Regions from separate parts of the Homo sapiens genome. Here regions 1 and 3 are each linked to region 2. The links are contacts of gene promoters, found by promoter capture Hi-C in human tissues and cell types (Jung and others, 2019). All regions are on one chromosome and are shown on one strand. Each heading gives the region's core, a stretch centred on a gene start or on the middle of the fragment in contact. The rest is flanking DNA. Distances are from core to core; before and after follow the strand shown.

Evidence for each region. Contacts are between HindIII fragments. The study calls those that stand out against the background at their distance.
Region 1: a fragment that was not itself captured here is called in contact with the fragment with the promoter of ADCY5 in region 2 in 2 of the 25 tissues and cell types used here (bladder and ovary).
Region 3: a contact is called between a fragment that was not itself captured here and the fragment with the promoter of ADCY5 in region 2, in 5 of the 25 tissues and cell types used here (IMR-90 fibroblasts, dorsolateral prefrontal cortex, heart left ventricle and 2 more).

Annotation. Positions count from the first base shown.
Region 1 is chr3:123,514,047-123,518,039 of GRCh38, forward strand. The region is part of intron 4 of HACD2 (3-hydroxyacyl-CoA dehydratase 2); the gene reads right to left. Among named protein-coding and RNA genes, the nearest start is that of ADCY5, 67 kb to the left of the region's middle. The HindIII fragment of the contact is 5,021 bases long and covers 200-3,993 here.
Region 2 is chr3:123,447,840-123,451,602 of GRCh38, forward strand. It overlaps ADCY5 (adenylate cyclase 5), which reads right to left and starts at 1,251. Exons shown (of 21, transcript NM_183357.3): 1 at 1-1,251. The coding sequence starts at 706. RefSeq lists an enhancer at 1-312. The HindIII fragment of the contact is 15,282 bases long and covers 1-3,763 here.
Region 3 is chr3:123,350,366-123,354,384 of GRCh38, forward strand. It overlaps ADCY5 (adenylate cyclase 5), which reads right to left. Exons shown (of 21, transcript NM_183357.3): 2 at 2,067-2,216. Among named protein-coding and RNA genes, the nearest start is that of ADCY5, 97 kb to the right of the region's middle. RefSeq lists an enhancer at 660-1,638. The HindIII fragment of the contact is 4,980 bases long and covers 1-3,754 here.

The sequences.
Region 1 (3,993 bases), core at 1,460-3,959, 68 kb after region 2:
GGCGGATTGCTTGAGCCCAGCAGTTCAAGACCAGCCTGGGCAACATGGTGAAACCCTGCCACTACAAAAAATACAAAAATTAGCCGAGCGTGGTGGCAAGCGCCTGTGGTCCCAGCAACTCAGGAGGCTGAGGTGGGAGAATCGCTTGAGCCCAGGAGGCAGAGGTTGCAGTGAGCCAAGATCTCGCCATTGCACTCCAGCCTGGGGCACCAGAGTGAGACTTGTCTCAAAAAAACAAAAAACACAGAGAGAGTAGGAAACGAAACAAATGAAGTAAAATGCCAATAATTGGGGAATCTGAGTGAAGAGAATATGAGAGTTCTTTGTACTGCTCTGGCAACTTTTCTCTAAGTTTGAAATTACTTCAGAAAAAATTGTTTTCTAAAAATCACCTAAATACTAAGCAACCACTCCGGGGGTACAATGAGAAGGAAATATAACTATTATCTGGTTCTCTAAACATATTATTTTGGGTGTGAGGCCTCAGGATCTGCTGGAAGAGGTGGGTTTTATAACCATAAAGACATAACATTTATAAGAAAACATATCAACAAGCGTACATGAATGGAAGGTAACTTGAGAGGGAACAGCAGAATGAACACTGGCCCCAATCTACCTCCCCATCAGTATTGTCTTAGACCGTAAACAAGCCGAAGACAAGGTCACAAACTTGCTTTGAAGAAGGGCTAGCTTAGTTATAAGGCAAAATCAAATTCTTAATAAATGCTTTAGATTGGGATAATAATGATGATTAAGATAATGATAGTTCCCATTAGCAGGGCTAATTATTCCTTAAGAATGATAAAAGTAATTATGCATAAATTTTCACCAGCTAACTGTGAAACTATTTTAGTATGTATAAAGAACATATTCAGTTCTGTGTGAAAAGCCAATTATATCTCTGTTAGAAACCTCAGGACACAGAATTCAAAACAGTTATACAGAAATTTGTCATTAAATTTTTGGGGAAAGATTAGGTTACATTATACCCAGTAGGTAGCTAAGATTTATTGAGCACTTACTAAGCACCAGGCAGTGTTCTAAGTGCTTTGTATGTGTTAACTCGCAGACCACCTCATGAAGGGAACCACGGGGCCTGGGAGACTGGCACAGCTCCTGAGGAACTGGAACAGCCTACTCAGCCCTCAACTGGGCAACTGAGGGATGACCCAGCGGTCACAGCACTATCATCCCTCTGCCTTAGCAGTTATCCCACTATATGGTGTTTGCTGTCTGCTGGATTCTGCTTGACTCATACTAGGCTGGAAGCCCTGTGAGGGCAACAACTGCATCTGTCCTTTTCTCATGTGTCTTACTTAGTGCTTAGCACAATGCCTGGGGCATAGAAGATACTGAATAAATATCTGTTGAATGAACAGGAATGAAGAAATAATAGATGGCAACCCAACTGCAGTCTCAGCAAATGTGCTCTGACTCAGCTGGAACAGCCTTGGGTGGGAGGGCAGCTCCTAAGGGGCTGCAGTGCTGGTGCTGGTTGGTCCGTCAGCTGAGGGCTTGGGCTCGAGAACAGGGCAGTTCTAACGACAATCTGGGTCCTTTCTCTAACTTGATTAAGCTTTTTTGAACAAAAATGTTAAGTCATTTGGTTATTTATCTAAAAGGAATTTCATCCTTGATATTGAAATGTAATAGTAATAGATACACACATGGTGGTTTAAAAAAAAAAGATATTTGGATGAGTATGTTGGGGTTTTTTGTTTTTTTTTGAGACGGAGTCTTGCTCTGTCACCCAGGCTGCAGTGCAGTGGCACAGTGTCAGCTCACTGCAATCTCCGCCTCTCCAGTTCAAGTGATTATCTTGCCTCAGTCTCTGGAGTAGCTGGGGACTACAGGTATGCACCACCATGCCCGGCTAAATTTTTGTATTTTTTTGGTGGAGACGGGGTTTCACCATGTTGCCCAGGCTAGTCTCAAACTCCTGATCTTAAGTGATCCGCCCTCCTTGGCTTCCCAGAGTGCTGGGATTACAGGCATGAGCCACCGCGCCTGGCCTAGTATTAGTCTTTTCACACAACAATTTTATGTATAAAGTGTCCTTTATAATTTATTAAAAATCCATGATAAAGTGCCTGCTAAACAAAATACTATTCCTATTTTATGAAAAATGTGAGTTATAAAAATATTAATATTTCTTCCCCTTTAAAGGAGAGAATAATGTGCAACATATTTTTTTTTTTTTTTTTTGAGATGGAGTCTCGCTCTGTCACCCAGGCTGCAGTGCAGTGGCATGATCTTCTGCTCACTGCAACCTCCGCCTCCCGGGTTCACGCCATTCTCCTGCCTCAGCCTCCCGAGTAGCTGGGATTACAGGCGCCCGCTGCGACGCCCGGCTAATTTTTTGTATTTTTAGTAGAGATGGGGTTTCACCGTGTTAGCCAGGATGGTCTCGATCTTCTGACCTCGTGATCCGCCCACCTCGGCCTCCCAAAGTGCTGGGATTACAGGCGTGTGCCACCATACCCGGCCAGATTTTTAAAAAAATCCTACAGTGACAAAGGAAACTGGTTAAAAAGTTCTTACCATTACAACACCAATAACTGAGAACTATTTTTTTGATGTGAATAATGGACTAGTTAAATGTTCTGGCCTATCAAAACAACTCTTGGTCACAAAGTAAACTTTTCTGAACATGCAATGAAAAGATATATAAGCATGCAATCAACAAGCGATACATGATCGATTCTGCATTTATGACAGGCCAGACATGCAGAATGCTAAAATGTTCCCATTAGTCCAACTTTAATGGTTCCTATGTGTTCAGCCTGTTTTCTGGAAAACATGAAGAAAGGATGGTCGGTACCTCAACTAGCCTAGCTTCACCACCACTGGCCTCTACTCCAATTGAGTGTAACTCTGGAATCAAACAGATCTCCAGACTTCCTGGCTGCATGTCCTGAGGCAAGTTACTTATCCTCTCTGATCCTCAGCTTCCTCATTTGTAAACTGGAGAGGTCAGAAAAACATATTAAGTGCTTAGCAAAGCCCTTGCCATTTAAGCAGTTACCATTATTATTCCATGAAGGGAAAAATTCAATTTATTGAGATCCTACTATCTATGCTAGTCACTGCTGAGACTCCATACAACCTGATGGCTGTCTCTTAGGCTTAATTACAAAGAAATGCTTTGTGTTTTTCTTGTTTTGCTTTTTGTTGCCCAAGCATTGTTTAAAAGATGCCACCTCTCCCTCTACTTGAAGGTTAACATATGTCTACCAACTCTGAGATGTCTAAGGATCTCACCAGCTGCTAGTCTTTCCCAATATTCTTCCTTAGTCCTGTTTGATTTGCTCACCTCCAAAAAGCGTGTTACTAACTGAAAAGCTTTCATGCAACTATTACCTTCAACTCAATTCAAACACAGACACTGCATCAGAATGGAGTCATATTTAATCCCAACCTTCATCATATATATCTAATCCAGTCTAAATATTCTATGAAGTGATAGTCCTTTAACTCCAGCAATGATAGCCCAGAGAACAATATTCTCAGCAATTGGTGACTGTGGCCCCAAGAAAAGAGCTGGGGCCTACTCAACCCACAGTCCGCCCCCAAATCTCCAAATGCAGTATCCCAATGTGCCCACCCAACACTCCAGAGGGGAGAAGATTTACCACTGACAGAAAGGTAACTGAAATGTCAAAAGAACATGAAACTGGCAATATATTTTGTGAAATGTCATGGTTCTTTCTGTTCTATGACAGTGTAATAATTGCAAAAATTTCAAAAGGTGGGGAAAAAAAGCTATGAACACCATCTCTTGGACCAGAAATATCAAAATGGTGACCTACGGTCCCTGACCATAGATGTTCTGTTTGGGCTTGTACAGTGCTTTAAAAATATTTGGGCCGGGCGCGGTGGCTCACGCCTGTAATCCCAGCACTTTGGGAGGCCGAGGCGGGCGGATCACGAGGTCAGGAGATCGAGACCATCCCGGCTAAAACGGTGAAACCCCGTCTCTACTAAAAATACAAA
Region 2 (3,763 bases), core at 1-2,500:
GGAAGAAGTAGCGCTGGTACAGCCGCTCCAGTTTGTCCGACGGGAACTTCTTGGAGCGGAATATCTGCAGCAACGCCAGGCAGCAGGCGCCCAGGGACAGCACCGCGCCGGGCCCCGCGCCCGAGCCCGAGTCCGCCGAGCTGCCGCCATCCCCGGACCCCTCGCCGCCCTCGACGGCGCCGGCCTCCAGCTCGTCGGCCGCGCGCCCCTTGCCCCGCCGCTCCTCCAGACCCACCTCCACCGAGCGAGGGCGCACCTCCGTCCCGCCCGCCGAGGCAGCCGCCGCCGCCGAGCCGCCGCCGCCGCCCGCAGGGGGCGCCCGGGTGCTGCCCCCGCTGGCCGCGCCCCGCCGCTGCCGGCGGCTGCCGCGACCGCAGTCGTCGCCGCCGCGCTCCTGCCAGGCGGACTTGGAGCGGAAGCTGAAGCCGAAGCCCCCGGCCAGGGGGTCGTCACCGCTCAGCGGAGGATCGTCGTCGTCGTCGCTGCGCCAGCGGCTGGCCAGGCGCTGCTGCTGCTGCGGGGTCACCGCCCCCCCGGGTTTCTTGGTGGAGCCGCGGGCAGAGCCCCCGGGGGCATGGGGGTAGCCATTCGCGCGGGAATCGGCCTCGCCCCACGCAGAGCGGTGTTCGGGGCCTCCCCGGGGCGCCGGCGCCGCAGTCTTCTGCGCCGCGTAGCCCGGGGGGCTCACGCTTTTGGAGCCGGACATCCCCCCCTCGGCCTCGTCGTCTCCTTCCTCCTCCCCCGGAAGCCGGGCCGGGGGTCTCCAAGGGGAGGGCGGACGGCCGAGCAGGGGGACCAGGCTAGGGTCACACGTCGGGGGCGGCCCGGGGCCCTGCGCTGCAGCGGGGCATCTTGGCACCCCCGTCCTGAGCGGAGGAGGAGGGCACAGCCCCGAGGTGAGAAGTAGCTGAGGATCCGCGTCAGAAGTCCCAGGTCCGAAATGGAGTTGCCTCCGAGGTGGGGTCGCAGGGACTGGTCTGGCTGCTGCTGCGCCGCACGCGGAGAGACGTCCGGGATCCTGGCTCGCGTCGAGCTCGACGAGGGCCGGAGTTGCGGACGAGACGGGACGGAGTGGTGTCCTTGCGGGCGGTGCCTCCTCGGGCCGGCAGTGCCCGGGCGCGGCGCTCGCTGATTCCGCCTAAGCGGAGCCCAGCTGCTCTCGGGGCTCGGCGGCGGCGAGGGCGGCTCGGCGGGGGTCCCGGCGAAGAGACACTGCGGGTGCGCTTTCCTCGCAGCGGACTGGGAGCGACTGGGAGGTGCGGGCGCCAGCCAGCATTATTTTCTTACGAGGGGTGGGGAGGTGGGATGGGAGGTGGAGAGGACGGGGGAGGGGGCGACGGGCGGAGCAACAGCTCCGGAGCCCCGGGGGGGAGGGTCCTGGAGCCCGGGGGGGCCGTTGCCCGCATCCCCCACCTCTCGCGGCGAGAGTGGATGCGTGGCCCCGGCGAAAGCCGAGCCGAGCCTTCGGCGCGTCCGCGCAGGGGGCGGGGTCCGGGTCAGGGACCGGCTCCTGCGGTGCGGCCCTTCCCCTCTCGCCTCTCCCTTTCCCGCAAACGGAGCGGGGCCGGCCGGGACCTGCCGGCCCGGAGAGCTGTCGCGCCCGCTTCGCAAGCCCCAAGCTCCTCGTCGCCGGCTGCGGGCCCACCGCGGCCGGCGCGGAACGACTAGGCGGAGGACGGAATCCGGCGCAGCGCTGCCGCGGTTCTGCCCCGACGCAGGCAGGCTTCTCCCGGGGAGTAAGGCATCCAGAGATCCAGCGCCGGGGCTCAGAAGCAGCCGGCCCAGAGGGGCCCGCCTGAGAGCCGCGGCGCCCGAGAGGCGCTCCGGGGGGGCCCGCGGGAGCCCGGCTCAGGGCGCGCCATGCACGCTTCGGGCCCTGCGCCGCTCCGGCCGCTCGCGCCGCTCCTCCCTTCTCGCCCGCTCGCCGCCGCCGGAGAGCCCTCCGCATCCCCTCCTCCCGCTGCCTCCCCGCCCCCCGCGCCGCCCGGGCCTCGGCTCACAGCCGCGCGAGGCCGCCTCCGCCCCCGGCCTGGCCATGGCCCCAGCCTCGGCGCCCCGCGGGCATCCTCAGGCCTGGCCGCGGGCACCCCAGTTCCCCTTCCTCACCTAAAATTCTCGCTGCGCCCCTCCCTCCCTGGGACTAGGAGCCGCATCCAGCCTGCGGTCCCGTCACCAGACCTGGGTGGAGCGCGGTCTTCCCCCGCCCCCGGCCAGGGCTCCAGCGCCCCCAGTCCTAGCTCCCCTCTTTTGTATCCCCCTTTAATCCCCCTCCCCCCATTTAACCCAACTTCAGCCCCGGCGCTGCGCCCCCCTTCCCTGGCCCGGCTCGATTGGCCGCTTCCGGAGCTGTCAGACTACAGTCCGGCGCTCTTATTGGGCGATTCTCTGGCCCGGCGGCTGTGCCAAAGGAGGGCGCACCGGGTGGGGGGCGCCTGGGCAGCGAGTGCCTCAAGGAGAAGGAGAACAGAGTCCCTGGAGGGGTCTCAGGGGCCGGAGAGCCAGACCCGGAAATGGACAGGGGAGATGCAGAAACAGGACTTCTGAGACGCAGGAAGACAGTGATGGAAAAGATGGTGATGCAGTGGGTGAGGCCGATGCAGCCGGGGCGGGGCGGACAGGGAGGCTTTGGTGGGTAGTTACCAGGAGAAAGCCCCACAGTGAACACTGGAAACACCTGGCTTTTATAAAGCGCTCTTTGCCTGTTCGTAAAGTCTCATAAATCTCACTTGGTTCCCGTCAGTAATCCTAGGATGAGACAGAGGACAGAGACCGTGTAGCTATTCCCAGCTTATAGATGCAGAAACTGAGGCTCTGGGAGCTTATTCAACTTGCTATAGGTCACACAGGTCTACTAACTTGGCACCCAAAGGTCCTTCGTCAGCGCCAGACTGCCTCCCTAACCTAACAAGGTGTTAGCAGGAAGGATGGGCACCTGAGCAAGCTGGCGTGCCCACTTGGGGGGAAGCAGGGGAAGGGGAAAATGGCTAGATACACAGCACCAGCCACAAGAGGCAGGAATGGAGAGAAGGATTCGACTGCTAGGCAAAAAGGACGTAGGCCTGTAGAATGATGTGTCTACCCAATTCCCTTTGCCCCCAAGCTGTCCTGCTGGAGTTCTGACAGTCTAAACCCTGGAGAGGTGGGAGACCACACTCCTACCCAGCCTGGGGGTAAACAGCTTTTACTTTCCCCTTCTTCATCCTCCAACTCTCTCCCCAGAGCTTCTGACAGGGAGCCTAGAGGTCTAAGTGAGCTTCCTTCTTTGTCTCTCTCTGCTGGTCATCTCTGCAGACTGGAAGATAAACCTTGCCAGAGTTACAAATTGGGAGGAGAAAAATTCCAAGAGGTCAGAATAAACTAACCCTTGGGTAATCCAGCCTTTGAGTATTCCACTATTAGCCAAGTTGTAAAAAAAAACATGAATTTAGTCAATAAAAATTCTAGAGAACCCTCAATGTACAAAGCATTGTGCTAGTTGCTACCAGGATAGAGAGATGACCAAACTCTAGACCGGGAACAAGTCGAACAAGTCAGTGACGGAGAAGAGCTAGCCACTATCTCTAGGTCAGAGCAAAGTTCTGGGTTCAATAGAAGTGCAAACAGCACCTCGGGCATTCAGAGAGAGGGGGTGTCACTTCCCACTGTGAGGGCCAAACAAGGGCCTGGAAGTCAAACCTGGGTCTAGCAGGGAAGGATGTCTAAGAAAGGGAGGATGGACTAATTAATATTTACTAAGCAACTGTTGTATGTCTGTAAACATTTT
Region 3 (4,019 bases), core at 15-2,514, 97 kb before region 2:
CTGGTCTCCCCAAGCAGCAGGAAACACGACCACCAAAGGCCAACTCTCAGTAAATAGTTACTGGTGATAGAAATAGGAATTAAAAGACAGTGTGGGATGACTGGGAGAGACCGTGCTACAAACCGTTTGGCTTCATGAGAGGCCCTCCTACATTTACAACCACCTCTGGGGCTGAGGGCCAGGAGGGGTGGGCAGGGGGCCGCTGAGGAACAATTCTGAGCCCACTCATCACAGGGCACCTAGAAGCTTCCCCCAGGGAGCCCCAGCAGCTCTTTCTGCACGCCTTGCTGGCTATGGCCGGTTGAGAAGCACCTGTCTGCAGAAAGCTTCCCCTCCTCAGCACATTGGCTCCGAATATGGAATGGCAAAAATATTTTCTCCCCTAAATCCCTGTGGATTTGGTGGAATGCCCAGACTGGCCCGGGCAGAGCAAGGAAACTGTGGCAAGCTGTAAAATGGTAATTCCCCTGGAGAAGTGAGAGGCACAGCCCCAAAAATGGAAGGAGGAGGTATCCTGATCTCAGGTGAGAGATGCTGAGGCCTGGAATGGGGATGATGAGGGGCTTTTCAGGAATGCTGAGGCCTGGGGGTGAGTGTGGTGCAGTGTGCCAGAGGCGAGGTACATGTGTTAATAAAGGGCAGTGGGAGGACCCCAGGGACCCTGCCAGCAAGGGCTTCCTTCAAGATGCTGGACCAGAAGCTCAGACAGGGCCAGAGTGAATGGGGAGAGCCAGGCTGGGGACTGGTCAGCTTAAGTGGAGACCTGACAAGACATGGCGACCACCGAGGCAGCGCTGGAAGGGAAGTGGAGACAGGTGGGGACTGGGGGGCCTGGAGAGGTACTACAGAGCTTTGCCCCCTCGTTTGGCTGTCTGGATGTCACCAGCCATATCACTGTGACTCACTTAGGATGCAACCAGATGGCATCAAGGACACCCCCCACAGTACTAAAACATTCTGCACTCAGGGTGGCCACAGCATGTGCTCCGTGCCAGCCTGGAGCCATGAGTGACCACTGCCATCTTGGCCATTTCTCCGTGTCCCCCACACTCAAAGGCAGACCTTCCATGTTCATATCAGCCATGGGGGCTGACGCAGCATGCGGCACTTAGATGAGCTCCACTGATGCTTGCTGAGGGTCTGGGGAGATGGTAATCTAAGATGGGAGGGAAGGCCTCCGGTTTGGAGCAACCTTATCTCACAGGAGCTAGTGGGAGCCCCATCACCCTGCAGACCCGCCCACTCTCTCCCCTAGGCCACACAGCCCCCCAGGCCTCCCATGTGTGAGCCATGACTCAGAGTCACCAGACCCCTACCTGATTCACACACAGAAGAGGAGACAGTGGGGATCCAGACCTGGAATCCAAACAGGACTCCGCCCCCAAAGAGGGAAGGGCTGGACCCCTGATGTGGCCCTCAGCCCTGCTCCCACCCCACCCAAGAGTGGTGCACACAGGGCAGGTCCCTCTTTGCACCAGGAATCTGTGGCCCTGGGAATGGCCTGCCTTCCCTGACCCAGGCAGTCGGTCTAGGAAGAGATGGGACTTTCTTCCTTCTCAGAACCACCAAACCCCAGAACTCAGAGAGGGGAATAGCCAGGTGTGGGGTGTTTCAGGGGATGACAGCTCCTGTCTCCTCTTCTTCTCCCTCATCCCTCCCCTGCGGAGCACCTTAATCCCAGTTAGGAATGCTGGCTTCTCTCCTTACTCCAACTCAAGGCGGGGTGCAGTGCGGGGAGGGAGTGGTGAGCAGTGTGGGGAAGGAGTGGGGGCCGTGTGGGGAGGGAGAGAGGGACCCTCTGGCTGCTGGGCTTGTTTGCAAACCACAGGGACGCCACATGGCTATGGGCACCAGGCCTTGGGCACGGGCTGGGTAGAACTCACTTCCCACAGGGCCTGGAATGCTGGACTCTCTCCAGGGGAAACATTCCCCATGGGTTGGTCCCCTCCCGGGGAGTGGGGCTGGCAGCCGTAATAAGCACTGCCCGCCCTAGGCCAGGCACTCAGCTGAGGTACATCTCAGGGCTCGACTCCGTCCCACTGTGCAAGGGCAGGGGCCTCACTCACCTGCTGCTGGTTCTCCCGCTGCGAGTGGAGCCGCGCCTGGATGCACTCTCGGGTCTCCTGGAAAGCCTGTCTCTGGGAGACCTCAGCCGGATAGTGGGTGCAGACACCCACGATGTTGGTGCAGGAGAAAATGAGAACATTGGAGACAAGCTGCAGAGGGAGAGAGGAGCACACCTAGCTCAGATCCTGACCTTCCTGGCCCCAAAGCATGAAGCCCTCAGCCCCTGTCTCAGCAAACTCACACCTGGCGCTAGCAAACAAATGCTGAGGGCACCCCACACGCGGCCAACCACTGTGAGCAGCCGAGCATAATCGATCGGGCTCTCTGATGTCCTCAAAGCCAGAAGTTTGGCTGGCTTGTCATGGGATATGTCCTCTAAAGACACTGAATCACCTAATAATCATACTAAACATGCCTATAGTACCAGAAATTAAAAGGCTACATGTACTGTGACAGAGCTGTGTGTGTGCTCGGGGCAGGAGGGCCACTGCAAGGAAGGTGCCACAAGGGTGCTGGGATTTCACTTTTGAAAGTGTGATAGAGTCCAGTACAGGACAAGGGGCCACCCTCCCCCAGAGATCAGCTCCGATGAATCAAGGATTCTCGAATCCCCTCAGGTCCCCAGCACTGTGCTAAATGCTCTAGGGAACAAAAGGGCAAGGCTGGCCAGTCGGGGTCCATGGCCACAGTGGGTCTCCACTCCTTCCTCCCTAGGCTTCTGGTCTTTCTGTTGCCAGCTCTCTGACAACCACTGCACCAGCCGGCCAGTGCCTGCCATTTCCCCCGCTCCCCAACAACTGAGATGTGTGTGTGGAAAAACACCACTGACCCTCCAGGTCAGCAAAGTCAAAGCTGGAATTCTTTTGAAGGGAATACTTACTGAAAAGCTAAGGGAAAATGAAACACAATACAACACGACACGGAAAGCAAGGTTATACGGTACATTCAGATCCCAGTGAGTGATGTGTAGGCAAAATTTCTCTTGGCAGGTAGAGCTCCTGGATATCTGAGTACATGGGTCCTGTTGTTGTCCTTGACTTGGGGCCACATGGAACAGAGCCACACAATGATGCTCCGGCTCCTAGGCTGTGGGGGCTTTGAGCTGCACCTCAGTTACTCCCACCAAAAACTTCCTTAGTCCCAGCTCCAGAAAAGGAGCCTGGGTCAGCCGCTGCACCTTCTGCTGTGGCTCCCTTAGCCCTCAGGAGGCCTGTGTTAGTCCCAAGTCCTGGGGTAAGGAGGGCACTTGGCCATTTGGATCCCAAAGAGTCTTGCTGTGGGACGTCGGCTGCCTGGCAGTGGCCCTGGCAGATGACTCCTACGCTCTTCTCTAGGGGCCTCTTGGCTCTCGACTCAGGTCTGCTTTCTACCAGAAGGCTTTGCCCACCACAGCTTTGCGATGGTCCTGCTCTTGCTCCTTGCTGAATGTGGTACCATCTTTCCCTGGAGACATCCCATGGTGTGTGTGCCCCGGTCCATGAAGACTTTCTCTTTCCTATTTCAGGCTCTCACTCCCTCCTGGCTGAAGAATGCCCTGAGCTCCCCATGTGTCTCCTGGATGTGCCTTCCAGGAAGGGGCAAGTTCAGATTTCTAGCTCCACTGACTCAGACGACTACTGTTGCTGACTCATAACTCCCATATCCTTCCACTCCAACCCCATCTACGCTAGCATCCCATTGCTGTCATTTTATGTAAACACATGGCATAGGAAAAGCCAACCTATTTATCATAAGGAAAGACCCCTGCTCTTCAGAAACTTACAATCTACTTGAAGAGTGTTATAGATGGAATGTTTGTGTCCCCCAAAAGGACTGCTGAACCAAAGAATGGCTGCTTGAGCCCACGGCTTCTGGAAGATTCATCAGAGGCAAGAGTGCAGGAATGGGAGACGGGTCCAGATGCTGCCACAGAAGCCCAAAGCATGAGGGAACAAAGACCTGCGTGTGGCTGG